Regions from separate parts of the Homo sapiens genome. Here region 1 is linked to region 2. The links are contacts of gene promoters, found by promoter capture Hi-C in human tissues and cell types (Jung and others, 2019). All regions are on one chromosome and are shown on one strand. Each heading gives the region's core, a stretch centred on a gene start or on the middle of the fragment in contact. The rest is flanking DNA. Distances are from core to core; before and after follow the strand shown.

The links. Contacts are between HindIII fragments. The study calls those that stand out against the background at their distance.
Region 1: a fragment that was not itself captured here is called in contact with the fragment with the promoter of HID1 in region 2 in 1 of the 25 tissues and cell types used here (lymphoblastoid cells).

The regions. Positions count from the first base shown.
Region 1 is chr17:75,518,020-75,520,719 of GRCh38, reverse strand. It overlaps TSEN54 (tRNA splicing endonuclease subunit 54), which reads right to left. Exons shown (of 11, transcript NM_207346.3): 6 at 1,673-1,725. Among named protein-coding and RNA genes, the nearest start is that of TSEN54, 2.8 kb to the right of the region's middle. The HindIII fragment of the contact is 6,204 bases long and covers 1-2,700 here.
Region 2 is chr17:74,971,460-74,974,159 of GRCh38, reverse strand. It overlaps HID1 (HID1 domain containing), which reads left to right and starts at 1,401. Exons shown (of 19, transcript NM_030630.3): 1 at 1,401-1,569. The coding sequence starts at 1,504. All of the region lies in intron 1 of HID1-AS1 (HID1 antisense RNA 1), which reads right to left. RefSeq lists a silencer at 1,337-1,446. The HindIII fragment of the contact is 11,502 bases long and covers 1-2,700 here.

The DNA of each region.
Region 1 (2,700 bases), core at 93-2,592, 550 kb before region 2:
CCTCCTAAAGTGCTGGGATTACAGGTGTGAGCCACTGTGCCTGGCCTCCTGGCTGTGAATTAAGGCTTTAAGGCAATGCTGTTCAAAAAAGAGCCACTAGCGACAGGTGGCTATTTAAGTTTGCTTTTTTTTTTGAGATAGAGTTTCGCTTTTTCGCCCAGGCTGGAGTGCACTGGCAAGATCTCGGCTCACTGCAACCTCAGCTGCCCAGGTTCAAGCAATTCTCGTGCCTCAGCCTCCTGAATAGCTGGGACTATAGGCGCCTGCCACCACACCTGGCTGATTTTTTTTTTTTTTTTTTTTTGGTATTTTAGTAGAGACAGGGTTTCACCACGCTGTCCAGGCTGGTCTCGTACTCCTGAGCTCACGCGATCCGCCCGCGTCGGCCTCCCAAAATGCTGGGATTATAGGCGTGAGCCACCACACCAGCCTATTTAAGTTAGATTTAAATACATTTAAATTAAATGAAATTAAACATTCAGTCCCACAGTTGCTCTAGCCCCATGTATTAGACATCACAGACACAGAACATTTTCATCATTACAGAAAGTTCTATTGGACAGAGCTGCTCTAAGGGATAACCTCTCATTTGTGTGAGCCTGCCTCTTGTTCAACTCTTGTTTGCAAGTACACTGATTTTGCACAGTGAGTGTGTTCTGTGTGACTCCTCACTAAATGCAAGCTCTGTGAGGGCAGTGATTTTGCTCTTCTGTTCTCAGCGATGTGTACAGGGCCTGACCCCCAGCAAATAATAAATATCGTTGATCATTCTCACAGGTGAACCACTGTACACGTCCACGATTATTTCCTTAGGATAGGTTCCACTTTCAGAAAAGAAAAGATGTAGAGCTGGGCGTGGTGACTCATGCCTGTAATCCCAGCACTTTGGGAGGCTGAGGCGGGAGGATCATTTGAGGTCAGGAGTTCGAGACCAGCCTGGGCAACACAGTGAAACCCCATCTGTACTAAAAATAAAATAAAATAAAAAAATTAGCCAGGCATGGTGGCACACGCCTGTAATCCCAGCTACTTGGGAGGCTGAGGCAGGAGAACTGCTTGAACCCAGGAGGCAGAGGCTACAGTAAGCTGAGATCATGCCACTGCACTACAGCCTGGGCGACAGAGTGAGACTCCGTCTCAAAAAGAAAAGAAAAGATGTGCCTGCTTTAGAGCTTTTGTGACATACTGTAACTGCAAAAGCTGTACCCGTTTCCACTCCAAGTCTGAAGGTCTCTGCCTTTTACCAATGCTGGATTACTAAGGTGATGAAGGAAAAAACATTTAACCTGGCATGAAAAATGTGAAACCCTACTAATGGTAAATTCTTCACCCAGTCCTTCATTTAAGCATACACTCTACATACCTGCCTGCGCACCTACTAAGTGCCAGGCACTGTTCCAATCCTGCCTCTCAGTGCTCACACACACTCAGCTGCAGGCGCAGGTCATCTGAAGATGCGGCTCGAGTTCATAAACCAGAATAAAACAAAATGACCTGGATTCCTCCCAACCTGCCTCTCTCAGAACGCTTCCAGCAGGCGCCCCCAGTCTGTGCCCAAGGAACTGCACTCCAGCCAAGGGTTCCAGGTAAGGAGAGGCCATTTTCTACCTTAGACTAGTCAGCCAGGTCCCAGGACTAGAATATATGGAAGGGGAACAGGAAGGGGATTTACCTTGGTTGGAATCGTCGAACCACATAACCCAACCTCTTCAGGTGGCTGAAGACCTCAAAAGAAAAAAAAAAAATGAAAGCTCAGATGGCCACTCTGGAAAACACCAAATGGTTTCTCCAGACACAGGCCATCCCCACAGCCCTCTCTGCCCCTCCTGTACACCCCCAGATTCTAAACCCTGTGATTAAGGTTGGACCATGCTTCATTACGAACACCATCCCTAAAGATCTCAGGCTCTGAATTCCTGTCCTCCCACTTACCTTACTCGGCACAAATGACATTTAGCCAAATCCAAAAAAACTGATAGCCATGAAACCAGAAAACCACCACGCCCTGAAATACTTGAGTATTTTGATACAAAGCTCATAGGAGTGAAGCTGCCGATCACCATGTGAACAAAATGATGGCAGGTGGTGGGCATCTCTCCAGCCCCACACCTCCACAGATGCCGGTGGGAAGTTTCTGGTAGGGAGCCACATATTCAACCTTGTGTCCCTGCATTCATATCAGAGGAACATAGATAAGAATGTCCCCCATCCTGCTTGATCTCAGCAGGCTTTAGCACAGCTAACCACTTCCTCCTTGAAAGACCTTCTTTTGGCTTCTGTGATGCGACTTTGGTTTTTCTCCTGCATCACCAGACACTCCTCGGTCTGTTTCTGCTTCTTATCTGCCCCCTAACCTACACAGAGAGCCCCAGGGCTCAGACCCAGCCCTCTACTCTGATGGCACTCCCATACAGCCCAGTAGTTTAAATACCATCCATGTGCTCATGGCACCCATATTTACATCTAGCCTTGACCTCTCCTCACACTCCAGACTTGGATTCCAATTGTCTGTCTGCTTTACACTCACTTGGATGTCCAAGAAGCTCCTCAAAATTAACTTATCTGACACAGTTCTTTCGACTGGTCTTGTCCTCCCAAATCTGCTCCTCTTCATTCTTCCCACTCAGAAAATGACAGCACCTTCATCCACTGGTGCATGCCCAAATCATGGGCGGTAATCCTGGGTTCTTCTCTCTCCTT
Region 2 (2,700 bases), core at 152-2,651:
CGGCTGAGGCAAGAGAATTGCTTGAACCCAGGAGGTGGAGTTTGCAGTGAGCTGAGATTGTGCCACTGCACTCCAGCCTGGGTGGGCGACAGAGCGAAACTCCATCTCAAAAAATAAAAAATAAAAAAGCATCCAAGATTTCCAGAAGCTTCCAGACATAGCTTGCAAAATGATGTTGTGGAAAAAGCGCAGCCTCATTTGGATGAGCTCCTTACTACCTGTGTGGCTTTGGGCAAGTAATTGCTTTAAGCCTCATTTTCCCCAAGTGTAAAATGGGGATAAAATAATACCTCAGAGGTAGCTATTAGAGATATCGTCATTGTCGTCTTGTTTTGATTCCCCCCCCCCCCCCGAGATGGAGTCTTGCTCTGTCGCCCAGGCTGGAGTGCAGTGGCGTGATCTCGGCTCACTGCAACCTTTGCCTCCCAGGTTTAAGCAATTCTGCTACTTCAGCCTCCAGAGTAGCTGGGATTACAGGCGTGCGCCACTAAGCCCAGCTAATTTTTGTATTTTTAGTAGAGACGGGGTTTCACCATGTTGGCCAGGCTGGTCTCGAACTCCTGACCTCGTGATCCGCCTGCCTCGGCCTCCCAAAGTGTTGGGATTACAGGCGTTAGCCACCGCACCCGGCCTTGTTTTGATGATTAATCTGCCTCTATTACAGGCTTATTTGGCTGTACCCTGGCCGCTTCTTTCCTTATCCCTCTCCCTAGCTGCTCGCCATAAAGAGCAGGCTGTACTACTTATGTCCGCTGTGTCCGTCCATGACACAGAGTTGGCAAATACCAGACCCTCAGCACATTTGTTGAAATGGATGAATCTCAAAGGATTCTCTGGGAATCTGGTGGCTAGAGAGGGGTCGGGACCGCGAGGGACTCTCGCGCTCAGCAAGGCGAGGAGCTGCTTTCCTGGAGTATGGAAACTGAGTCAGCGCCTCCCTCCCTCATAACCAAGGGCCTGCGGGACTGTCTGAACACGTGGGTTTGACAGGTCAGAAAAAGGGAGAACCAAGAGAGTGGATGCTCAGAAAACATGAATGGGAAAGACAGACTGAGAAGGAGGAAAGTGGGATGGAGAGGGCCAGCTGAGACGTGGGCCAGGAGCCGGAGCGGAGATGAAGGGTGAGGACCGGGGCGGGGGACGAGCTGCGAGGAGGGTTTTGGGCCCTGGGGACTGCGTGGTAGCAGCGGAGGCGGGTACAATGCTCCGACGCAGAAGGAAGAGCGTCGAGGCTCCGGGTGGGACCTGAGAAGGCACCCGGCGTGCGGCGGCGCTGGGTTGGAACCGCCGACTCCGCGGGTCTTCGGCGGCGGGCGCTGCAGGTGCAGGAGGCGGAGCCACGCGGGGGCGGGGCCTGTCGGGGCGGGGCCGACGAGGGCCGGGGGCGGGGCGCGCCGCTTGTCTCCTGCGAGAGCCGCGGGGGCCGCGGAGCTGGAGCCGGAGCTGAAGCCGGAGCCGGGTTGGAGTCTGGGCGGGGGCCGGGCCGGAGCGGGCTCCAGAGACATGGGGTCGACCGACTCCAAGCTGAACTTCCGGAAGGCGGTGATCCAGCTCACCACCAAGACGCAGGTGCGCCACGGGGGCCCCGGCGTCCCCATCCACCTGCCGGGCTGGGGGCTGGGCAGGGCCGGGGGTACGCGAACTTGGCTCGTCGGGAGATGGGGGGACGGGCGGGCCCCGAGCGTAACGCCAAGGCCAGCGCCGGAACGGGACCCCGCGGCCTGTACCTGGAAGCTCCATCCCCTGGCCCTAGTCCCCCACCCTCAGCCTCCTCTCCTGGGAACACCCCTCTCCCCGAAGCCGCTGCTGCCACCTTAGGCTGACGTGTGCCTACTCCCCGAGCCGGCGACACAGCTGTCCGCCCCCTGTCCCGCCCCGCGGCGTCCCCAGCTTCGCATCTCCAGCCTCCCGCCGCCCCCACCCACCCATCCACCGTCCGCTCCCCTCCCTGCCCCTCATTGCCCGCGGGTCCCGGACGCACAGTCCCTGTTGACTCAATGCAAACAAAGCCTGGCTGGCGTCCGCCCGGGTCGGAGAAACAGCTGGTGTGCGCGGCAGCGGCCTCGCTGGGCCCTGGTCGATGCCCGTGGGCAGGGAAGGCCCAGGTCTTCCTGGGAACACGCAAAGAGTGGCGGGCAGCGAGGCAGCCTGGTGGGGGGCCCTGTCCCCAGGCCTACTGAGCACAGCCTCCCAGCTGGGGACCTCTCCAGGGGCCTTCCCCGAGGCCCTGCAAGGGAAAGGCTGTTAGCCTGTGTGCTCTGTTCTCTGGCTCAGGGATGGGGACCCGCAGGATGGCCCTCAGTCAGCTGGTGAGGGGCCTAAGGACCCTCCAGCCTAGTCCATGCTCATAACTCTCCTGTGAGTCCACAAGTGGCCCAATAGCCACCTCCTTATACCACCTGGCCCCAGCAAGACTGCTTCTCTGCCCACCCCTTCTCTCCTGGCTTTTTGAATCAGGCCACCGTGGCCACAGAGATGCTCGGCCCTGACTCCCCATGTCCCCCATTTTCAGGGGACACAGGACCTGCTGCCATCTGGGATCTTCCTCTTTCCTGGCCCCCCCACCTCCTGCTCTCCAGGGCTCTCTCTTGCTGCTGGAGGTTAGAGTGGGATGGAGGAAGCCAGCTCCCACAGCCAGCTGGTCACAGCTCCAGGGGCCAGACCTTGCTCCCTCACCCCTTTCCCCACCCTGGAAGGGTC